2 separate regions of the Homo sapiens genome follow, and region 2 is linked to region 1. The links are contacts of gene promoters, found by promoter capture Hi-C in human tissues and cell types (Jung and others, 2019). All regions are on one chromosome and are shown on one strand. The core of a region is centred on a gene start or on the middle of the fragment in contact, and the rest is flanking DNA. Distances in the headings are between cores, read along the strand shown. Region 1 holds the start of SPSB1 (splA/ryanodine receptor domain and SOCS box containing 1). Region 2 has its middle 20 kb from the start of LINC02606.

Evidence for each region. Contacts are between HindIII fragments. The study calls those that stand out against the background at their distance.
Region 2: a contact is called between a fragment that was not itself captured here and the fragment with the promoter of SPSB1 in region 1, in 5 of the 25 tissues and cell types used here (bladder, dorsolateral prefrontal cortex, heart right ventricle and 2 more).

Annotation. Positions count from the first base shown.
Region 1 is chr1:9,290,711-9,296,210 of GRCh38, forward strand. SPSB1 (splA/ryanodine receptor domain and SOCS box containing 1) reads left to right here and starts at 2,184. Exons shown (of 3, transcript NM_025106.4): 1 at 2,184-2,361. RefSeq lists silencers at 1,849-2,018, 2,069-2,148, 2,219-2,288, 2,829-3,118. The HindIII fragment of the contact is 10,751 bases long and covers 1-5,500 here.
Region 2 is chr1:9,406,454-9,411,953 of GRCh38, forward strand. No RefSeq gene overlaps it. Among named protein-coding and RNA genes, the nearest start is that of LINC02606, 20 kb to the right of the region's middle. The HindIII fragment of the contact is 3,343 bases long and covers 1,351-4,693 here.

The sequences.
Region 1 (5,500 bases), core at 934-3,433:
CATGAGATGCCAGTGTCTGGTAGATGCCACACACACAGTGAATAATCCACCAAACAGGGCTACTCTCCCAAGGAGAAATGAACCCATCAGAGGCAGCTGTGATTTTCAGCAATGACTGACGTGGGCTGCACCCCATGGGCCTGTCCCAGAGGCTCTCACCAGTCTCCCAAGTAAACAACAGTTCTCAAACTGCAGAGTGGCTGGAGGGGGTCATATGCTCTTTTAAAATTATTATTACCTTTTTTTTCTTTTTTTTTGAGATGGAGTCTCGCTCTGTTGCCCAGGCTGGAGTGCAGTGGTGCGATGTCGGCTCACTGCAACCTCTGCCTCCTGGGTTCAAGAGATTCTCCTGCCTCAGCCTCCCGAGTAGCTGGGATCGCAGGCACGTACCACCACACCCAGCTAATTTTTGCATTTTCAGTAGAGATGGAGTGTTGCCATGTTGGCCAGGCTGGTCCTGAACTTCTTTTTTTTTTTTTTTTTTTTTTTTTGTGAGACGGAGTCTCGCTCTGTCACCTGGGCTGGAGTGCAGTGGCGCAATCTCGGCTCACTGCAATCTCTGCCTCCCGGGTTCACACCATTCTCCTGCCTCAGCCTCCCAAGTAGCTGGGACTTACAGATGCCCGCCACCACGCCTGGCTAATTTTTTATATTTGTAGTAGTGACGGGTTTCATCGTGTTAGCCAGGATGGTCTCCATCTCCTGACCTCGTGATCCGCCCGCCTCGACCTCCCAAAGTGCTGGGATTACAGGTGTGAGCCACCAAGCCCAGCCTGGTCCTGAACTTCTGACCTCAGGTGATCCACCTGCCTCAGCCTCCCAAAGCGCTGGGATTACAGGTGTGAGCCATCATGCCCGGCCAATTATTATTATTATTATTTAATTTTTGTGCAGAGTCTGTGTCTTGCTCTGTTGCCCGGGCTGCTCTTGAACTCCTGGGCTTAAGTGATCTGCCTGCCTCAGCCACCCAAAGTGTGGGGATTAAGGGCGTGAGAGCCACCACCTCCAGCCTCAAGTGATCTTTTAAATGGGAAGCACCCCTAAGCTGCTGGCCATGGCTGCCCACCTGACTAGTCTGGGTTCAACATTCCTAAACCGCTGGCACCTGGAAAGTCAGAATGCCCACTCAGGCCCGCCCAGCCCAGGGCAGTTGGTTGAGTCTCCGTAATCCTATTCTGAGTTCAAACAAAGCTAAACCAAACTGATTTTCAGCACCGTAAAATGAGAGACATCAAACTTTGTAATCTCACAGTTCAATTGGGTTCCAAGCTCTGGACAGCTGGCCTCGGGCCAGGCACTGTTTCCTCGCCTTTACAGTGAGTGTGTCATTAGTCCCACCCTCACTGTACTGGGTTATGGTAAAGACACAGTAACTACGGAAGCCCCGCTATTTGTTTCGGCTCCCCCAGAAAGGCTAACTCCTCACCGTTTTCAATGGACACTACACAGCGAGGGGTGGGGAATGCCAGGAGATTTTGCTCTCAAAACAGCAAAGTCTTTAAAATCTTCCCAGTCCCAAGTGACTGCTCTGTTCGGGGAAGGGGGAGGAAAATTCCTTGAACGAGCTAGAGCCACAGGACAAGTCCCCAGAGGCTGGGACCTGTTCAGGGAGCAGCCCTGCGGATGCCAGGTGCCCGCGCCCTCAGGGTCTCGAGGTCCGAGGCCCCCGTCCCCGTGGGCACCGAAACGCGAGCGGCCGAAACAGCGCTGCAGGAGGCTCCCTGGACCCCCGGCGGCTGCCCACTCGTCCCCGCTGGGCACTTCAGAGGAGGCCGGCGAGGCCTTGCTCGGGGTTCCTGGGACAACCCCACTCTCCGCGAAGATTTCTCCTTCTCGTAAGACCCCCGCCCCCACTCCAGCCTCCCACGGCTGCAACCCAGGCCCTGCGCCACGCGTTTCCCAAAGACGCCTCCGGAGGGACCCGAGCTTCGGGCCGGCAACACCAGGGCGGCGGCTCGGGAGAGGGCTGCGGACTAAGGGGGCGGAGGGGGCGGCCGAACCAGCGCCGGGCTGACGCGCCCCGCGCCCCGCGCCCCGCGCCCCCGGCCTTCCCTGCAGTGCTGAGTGGTCCGTGCGCCCGAGGTCGGGGGCGGGGCGGGGCGGGGCGGGGCAGGGACGGCCCCGCCCACCGGCGCTTTTCTCTTTTTTTTCACTTTAAAGCCGTCGGTTGCTTTTTCTCCTCCGCACAGAAGTCGCGCTCGGGCAGCCTGCGCGCTCGCAGCAGGAACCAGGCTCCAGGCGCCGGCGCCGGGGCCGGGGCCGCGGGGAGGAGGCGACTTCGCTCCCTGCGGCGGGCGCGGCCCGGGCGCCCGAGCCTCCTCGGCCTTGGAGAGCAGCGGCGGCGGCGGCACCCCGGGCGCGGTAGGCGGCGCGGGGCACCTGGGACCCCGATGGGTGGGCGACCGGCCCGGGAGGGGGAGGCGCGGGGGGCCGGGCGAGGGCGGACGCGGGGATCGCGCCGCTGGGGGACCGAGTGGGTGGCGCGGGGCCGGGCGCGGGGGAGCGGGTGGAGTACGGGATGGGGACTCGGGGCGCGGCCCCTCCCGCGGTGGCTCCGGGGGCGCCTCCCTCGCCGCGGCTCCTGGGAGAGGGGCCCAGGCCCGCCCCGCGCTGCCGCCGCTGCAGGGCAGGGGGTCCCGGGGCGAGGCGCGGCGGGGGTCTCGGGGCGCGGGGACCGTCGCAACGAGTTGCGGTCCCGAGGAGGGGCTGGGGCGCTCCGGGGCCGCCGACCCGTCCCCCCTTTAGCCCGGGGAAAGCGGGACCCCGCTCGGCTGAGTTAGTTTCGCTTTTCCCGCCAGTCCGAGTCGGGATTGGCGGCGCGGCCCGGTCCCCCGTCGGGGCGCCCCCACCCTCCCGCAGCGCCTCCCCCAGGGAGCCTGCCGGGGACACCCGAGCGCCGCCCTCCCCGCCGCCCCGGAGCCGCCGCGGCTTCTCCCAGCAGCGGAGGGAGAGCCGGAGGGTTGTCAGGAAATCGATTAAATCAGAAAAACAAGGGCGGCCTGGGCCCGCGGGAGGAACCGCGGATGGGTCACCGTCCCCGGGCGTGTACTGGGCTCGGTGGCGTCCAGGTTCCGGTGAGGACGGGACGGCCCCGAGAGGAGGGTGCGGGTCTGCAGGAAGAGCGGGTGTCTCTGAGAGTGCATCTGCGTGTGTGTTTGTGCATGTCCTTGTGAATATGTGCCTGCGTATGAGTGTGTCTGTGTGTTCATGTGGGTGTGTGTGTGAGTGTGTCTCTAAGTGCATCTGTGTATTTATGTGCCTCTGAGTGTGTGTGTGAGTCTGTGTGTCTGTCAATGTGTGCCTGAGACTCTAAGTGACTGTGTGTGTGTGTGTGTGTCTGAGTGCGTCTTTGTGTATTTGTGTGTGCCTCTCTGTGTATGTCTGTGTGTCTTTGTGTGTGTCTGTGTGTGAGTGTGTATGTGTCTTTGGGTGTGTGTCTCTGCAAGTTTGTGTCTCTGAGTGTCTGTCTCTGCAAATGTGTGTCTCTGTGTCTTTGTGTCTGTGTGTGTCTTTGCGTGTGTGTGTCTTTGTGTCTCTTTGTGTGTCCACACGTGTCTCTGTGTCTGTCTCTGTGTCTGTGTCTCTGAGTGCGTCTGTGTATGTGTGAGTGTCTGTGTGTCTCCAAGTGTGTGTCTGTGTGTCTTTGTGTGTGTTTCTCTGTGAGTGTGTGTGGGGACCATCCAGGGGGCCCTCTGGTTCCTAGGTACTGCTCCTCATGGTGATTTCTTTACTTGGTTCTGGATAGCCGGGCATGCTGGGCCACAGACACCCCACTAGGCAAGCCCTGCTGGTGCCCCCGAGGAGAGCGCAGGCTCTTCCTCTCTCCATTTCTCTGAAAATGAACTACACAGTTTGGGGGTGAGTTGGCAGGGGCTGCTTCCTGAGTGAGTAATATTTAATTAAACACTCCAGTCTGTAGCATCAGAAACTGGTCATGAGTTGAGTTTTAACAGGTGTTCATGGTAAAAGCGCCATCCCTGGTGACTAAGGTTTGATGTCCTTGGAAGAATTTTCTCGTTGGGGGGGCTGGGCCCACAACTTCATTTCTCATCGTGGGGTGTGAGGAGAACAGCAAGCAAGGAAGGGGATGGGGGCCTCTCCCTTCTGCCCTGTCCCCCTCCTCAGACCCCCCTCCCAGTGGTGGAAAGCCCTGGGCTAAGCATGGGCAGCACAGGTGGTCTCTCCACACTGAGGAATTTTGGAGTCAGGGAAGTCCTGTCTTACTGTCTAGGCCAGCCTGTCCTAGAGAGGCCCAGAGAGGGCGGTTCACTTACCCAGACTGCACAGCCAGGGCTGTGGACCAAGACTCCCCAGTCCTGAAACTGTTGCTCTTGGTTACTGTCCCCAGCACTGAGGTCATGGGCCAGGCACTTCGTGTCTCCCCAGCTGTGAAGTGATGGGCTGGATTAGATCATTTAAAGCACTCCTGCTCTCTTACAGCTGCTTTTCTTCTGCAGGGAGCACTTTACCCAGTAGATGGAGTGTGTGTGTGTGTGTGAGAGTGTGAGTGTGTGTGTGTGTGTGTGTGTGTGCGCGCGTGCGGTTGGGGAGGTGTGGAGTGGACTAAGGCAATCACTTTACAAGTCTTCCTTTTCCAGTCTGGCTACCACCCTAGCAGCAGAGAAAACAAAAGCAGTAGCATGTTGGCCCCAGTGGCTCAGACAGCCCCGAGCAGGGAGCAAGGCGGGTGCCATGCCGGCTTAAGAGAGACCTGGCCCTGGGAAGAATCAGTGGGTTTCAGGGCTCTTAGGAAGGGGTGGGCCTGCCTGGGGCCCTGGTGATGTCACTTTGGAGCTGGGTGAGGCCGTTTCTTGGGCTGCTGTAGTAAGGCTGGATCCACCCTTCAGTGGGTCCCTCTGGGCTGCTGCAGAATCTCACCCCCTTGGAATCATCACAGATGTTGAATTTCTTCACCAGAGCTGGGGAATGGGGTGGGGGCCTAGCCCGTGGAAGCCAGCGCTGCCCTCCCACCCCCATGGTGTGTGCCGTGCTCCCTTCCTGCACCTGCCCCTCCTCCTGGGTGGATGGAAACTTGCCTGCAGACGCATTTTCAAATTCAGCGAAACCTCTGATTCTTACGGTGTTCATGAGTTCGTCTGGGCATTTTGTATCAATTTTTCTCGAGAAATAGGTTGTAGCTGGTGTGCATGACTCAGTGTATCTTTTGGTTCTGAAAAATTTTATCAGACGACAGCACAAGGTCAGGTACAGGTGTGCCTCAGTCTGCCCAGGGGTGTGTTATCCTCTCCCCAGCCCTCAACACTAGATCAGTGAAATCCAGACTCTAAGGGACTTCGATTTTGGACTTTCAGTGAGTGCTCTCCCCTCCCCCAGTTATCTGATAACATCTCCCCCAGTCTAAAGTTCCACTGGCAGCCAGGTGCCCGGCTCTGTGCTACAGAGTGCTTTATGGACGTGACTTTGTTTGAATCCTAAGCATAATAATAGCGGGAAATGGTTTCATGGTTTCACGGTGCGTGCGAGTACTGGCTCTGATCTG
Region 2 (5,500 bases), core at 1,772-4,271, 120 kb after region 1:
CCGTCTGTTGCACCCTGAACTTCCTGTCATCACACTGATTACACTCTATTACAATTGTGTCTGGACTTTGGGAAGGTCCTAGCCTGGGAGCCCCCTCCTGAGACACACACACACACACACACACACAATCCCCACTGCAGAGGATTTACAGACACCCCTCTTCCAAGCCCATTCATAGACCCCAGGTCGATGTTGGAATTTCCTGGTTACTTCATTATCTCCCATGAAACTACAAGCTCCATGAGAGCCTTGTTCACCACAGAGCCTGGTCTGGAACATGGTAATCATCCATAACAATCCATTCCAGTATCAACAAACTATCAGCAAAGGTAACAATAGTCTATATTAAGTATCAAGAAAGATAAATGGCCAGGCACGGTGGCTCACGCCTGTAATCCCAGCACTTTGGGAGGCCGAGGCATGTGGATCACCTGGGGTCAGGCATTTAAGACCAACCTGGCCAACATGGTGAAACCCCGTCTCTACTAAAAATATAAAAATTTGTGGTACACACCTGTCGTCCCAGTTACTCGGGAGGCTGAGGCAAGGGAATCGCTTGAACCTGGGAGGTGGAGGTTGTAGTGAGCCGAGATGGCACCACTGAACTCCAGCCTGGGTGACAGAGCAAGACTCCATCTCGAAAAAAAAAAAAAAGATAAATGAGCTGTGTGACCCAGCCCAGTGTTGGTGCAGACCAGATGCTTCTTGAATGCTGTTTGAACGATGCTTCTTGAATGCTGTTTGAACGAATGAACAAATGACTCAGTGCAAATGACCCAGAGCTCAAATTTTGTCTGCTGGGCTGGGCTCACTCAGAGTGTGCTCCTCAAGGCCTCCCCTGACCCCCAACCACAAGAAGTCACCTAGGCCCTGATCCTGCCCTTCCAACCTGTTCAGTCCAGGTTAACCTGGGGTTCCTGGACCAGCTCCCAAGATGGGTGGGCACTGGATCTGCCCAAACCAGGTGGCTCCCCCCTGGAGTTCCCAGATACCTCACCTGTGCCCAGAACACGCCCATCCAAGGTGTCTTCATGGGAAGGGACAGTGGGACCTCCAGGCCATGATTACAAGAACTAGTTCTGGCCAGGGGTGGTGGCTCATGCCTGTAATCTCAGCACCATGGGAGGCTGAGGTGAGAGGATGGCTTGAGCCCAGGAGTTCAAGATCAGCCTGGGAAACATAGTGAGACCTTGTCTCAAAATAAATAAACACATAAATAAATAAAGTAAAATAACTCAGCCAGGCACATTGGCTCATGCCTGTAATCCCAGCACTTTGACAGGCCAAGGCAAGAGGATCACTTGAGCTCAGGAGTTTGAGACAAGCCTGGGCAACATGGTGAAACTCTGTCTCTATCAAAACTACAAAAATTAGCTAGGCATTGTGGCACATGTCTGTGGTCCCAGCTGCTTGAGAAGCTGAGGCAGGAGGATTGCTTGAGCCCAGGAGGCAGAGGTTGCAGTGAGTCCAGATCGTGCCATGGCACTCCAGCCTGGGTGATAGAGTGAGACTCCATCTCAAATAAATAAATAAATAAATAAAGTAAAAGAACTAGTTCTGGCTGGGCGCAGTGGCTCATGTCTGTAATCCCAGCACTTTGGGAGGCCAAGGCAGGCAGATCACGAGGTCGGGAGTTCGAGACCAGCCTGGCCAATATGGTGAAACCCCATCTCTACTAAAAATACAAAAATTAGCCGGGCATGGTGGCATGCGCCTGTAATCCCAGCTGCTCAGGAGGCTGAGGCAGAGGAATTGCTTGAACCCGGGAGGAGGAGGTTGTAGTGAGCCGAGATCATGCCACTGAACTCCAGCCTGGGTGACAGAGCGAGATTTAGTCTCAGAAAAAAAAAAAAAAGAACTAGTTTCCACCTCAACTCAGACACACATGTCGCCTTTCCAAAGGGTTCCAGCCACAGGGCCATCGCTGAGCTGACATCGTGGAGCCCTGTCTCTGTGGTAAGAATTTTCACATCCATGGCCACATTCTGTGCTGTGCGGGGTAAATGCTGAACAACCAGCTATCTGGAGGGCAGGTTGGGGTGGGGGAGAGTACACATACATATGTGAACATAGAGTATAAATCCTACCACAAATAAGTGCTTGATTACTACCTGACCCAACAAAAGAAATAGCTCATAGTTTTTTTTGGTTTTTGTTTTGTTTTGTTTTGTTTTTTTTGAGATGGAGTCTTGCTGTGTCACCCAGACTGGAGTGCAATGGCGTAATCTCAGCTCACTGCAACCTCCACCTCCCGGGTTCAAGCAATTCTCCTGCCTCAGCCTCCTGAGTAGCTGGGATTACAGGCGCCCAACACCACACCCGGCTAATTTTTGTATTTTTAGTAGAGATGGGGTTTCACCATGTTGGTCAGGCTGGTCTCAAACTCCTGACCTCGTGATCCACCCACCTCGGCCTCCCAAAGTGCTGGGATTACAGGCGTGAGCCACTGAGCCTGGCCCAGAAATAGCTCATGGTATTGATGAGTGAGTGTGATTCTAATATGAGGGTTGATTGGCATTTTCATGTATGTCAATGAGTAAGAAACAGTGAAACAAAAAAGACATTCGGCAGGCCCTTTAAATCTGTGGATTTCACATTTATGGATTCAACTAACCATGGATCTAAAATATTCATTCAAAAAAAATGGACGGTTGCATCTGTACCAAACATGTACAGACTTCTTATTTTTGTCATTATTTCCTAAACAATACAGTATAACAACTATTTACACCGCATTTACATTGTATTAGGTATTATAAGTAGTGTAGAAATGATTTCAGATATACGAGAGGATATGTGTAGGTTATATGCAACTACTACACCAATTTATATAAGGGATTTGAGCATTCGTGGATTTTGGTATCCAAGGGAGGGTCCTGAAACTAATGGGTCCAGATGGGACAACAAGGGCTCAGGGAAGGAAGGTAAGTGGTTGCCCAAGATTGAAGCTTATAAATGTCAGGATCTGAGGTCGGGAGTTCAAAACCAGCCTGACCAACATGGAGAAACCCCGTCTCTACTAAAAATACAAAATCAGCCGGGCGTGGTGGTGCGTACCTGTAATCCCAGCTACTTGGGAGGCTGAGGCAAGATAATTTCTTGAACCCGGGAGGTGGAAGTTGCGGTGAGCCTAGATTGCGCCGCTGCACTTCAGCCTGGTGACAGAGTGAGACTCCGTCTCAAAATAAAAAAATAAATAAATAAATGTCACAGCCAGGGTTTGAACTCACACCTGGAGCCTATGCTTCCAAACTCTCGGCCTGCAACTTGCCAGGGCCCAGCTTGCCCTTTGGTGGGTGGGAGTGATAGAGTTGGAGGCCCCATCCTGTTCAGGTCCAGCTCCAAACCTCACAGGCCTGGCCTGACACCTCCACTGTTCTGTGTCCTCCAGGTCCTGGGCTCCTTCTTCCACCTGGGTGGCTGGGTCTGGGATACCAAGGGACAACTATATATTGGAACTTTACTTTTTTTTGCTAAATTGGATAACAGCTTTGAATACTGGGAGAATAGTTCCTTATCTTTTGTACTATTCACAATGTTATTGCTAGAAGTACAATTCACTTTCAAGTTTAATTTGCAATATTAACTTTTTGTTTTGGAGTCTCACTCTGTGGCCCAAGCTGGAGTGCAGTGGCACAATCTCGGCTCAGTGCAACCTCCACCTCCTGGGTTCAAGTGATTCTCCTGCCTCAGCCTCTCAAGTAGCTGGGGTTACAGGTATGCGACACCACACCAAGCTAATTTTTGTATTTTTAGTAGAGACAGGGTTTCATCATGTTGGCCAGGCTGGTCCTGAACTCCTGACCTCAGTGATCTGCCCACCTCGGCCTCCCAAATGCTGAGATTACAGGTGTGAGCCACCGTGCCTGGCCAATATTAACATTTTCTCCATTGCTTTCTTAAATCTAGAAAATCAACAAAAGAGTAAAGAAAGCCCTGGCTGAGAGCATTTGCCCATTTCTGTGGTGTAAATACTCCCAGCGCAGTTGGTTTTGAGGTCCCAGAGTGACATTGTTGAATGTGGAGTTGGGAAGAGGTGTTCAGTAGCCACCATTACTAGCACTTCCACAAGGCAGAGACCATGGATATAAATAACCTCAGGGCATAGGTAAAATGTAGTAAGATAATTAGGAAGCCAGGAGTCTTGAGTCTTTAGAGCTTTGTTTTTAATATAATTTATTTAATCGTAAGTGTATAGAACTTAATTGTTAATGATGGCTGTATTTACAAACTGGCTCCAATGATTTCTGAAAATCATCAGTCAACCCTCCTGAGTCAGTACAAGTCAGCTCCACCGTGCCGTGAACCCATTCCCCTACAGCTCTATAGGAAAGGTCTTACTAGCTCTATTTTACAGCTCAGGAAGCTGAGGCTCAAAGGCCACAGAGCAAGGCCTTGAGTGCAGGAGGGCTTAATGCTGAGATGATTGGAGTCCTGCACAAGTTACTTAAGTCGGGTAGCGTGAGCAGAAACTGAACCACAAGTGTGTTTGGGGATTTGTGGTGTCAGGAAACACTTAAGATACTTCTCTACCAGTCTGGTCTGGCCTCCAGATAGCACAGTCCCTGCTTGTATAATGCAGTAGAATAAAGTTGCAACAGTCGGCCTGCAAAAGAAGATAACGTGGTGGCAGAAAGCCCTTTGACCAGGACACTACCACACTACCATAACACCACACCACCACACTACCAGAACACCACACTACCACACCACCACAACACCACACCACCACACTACCACACCACCACAACACCACACCACAACACCACACTACCACACCACACTACCATAACACCACAATACCACACTACCACAACACCACAACACCACACGACCACACCACCACACTACCATAACACAATGTAGGAGAGACCTGCCCACCTCTCTCTTTTCTTTTCTTTTCTTTCTTTCTTTTTTTTTTTTTTTGAGACAGAGTTTCACTCTTGTTGCCCAGGCTGGAGTGCAATGGCATAATCTCGGCTCACTGCAACCTTCACCTCCCAGGTTCAAGCGATTCTCCTGCCTCAGCCTCCCAAGTAGCTGGGATTACAGGCATGAGCCACCACACCCGGCTAATTTTGTATTTTTAGTAGAGATGGGGTTTCACTATGTTAGTCAGACTAGTCTTGAACTCCCAACCTCAGGTGATCCACCCGCCTCAGCCTCCCAAAGTGCTGGGATTACAGGCATGAGCCAGCGCACCTGGCCTTTTTCTTTTTTTTCCTTTCTTTCTTTTTTTTTTTTTTTTTTTTTTTTTTAGACAGGGTCTTCCCCTGTTGCCCAGGCTGGAGTACAGTGGTGCAATCTCAGCTCACTGCAACCTCTGCCTCCCAGGCTTAAGCGATCCTCTCACCTCACCTCCCAAGCACCCTGGACTACAGGCAAACTACAGTTTGGCTCTGTGTCCCCACCCAAATCTCATCTTGTAACTCCTACGATTCCCACGTGTTGTGGGAGAGACCCGGTGGGGGGTGATTAAATCATAGGGCAGGTCTTGCTC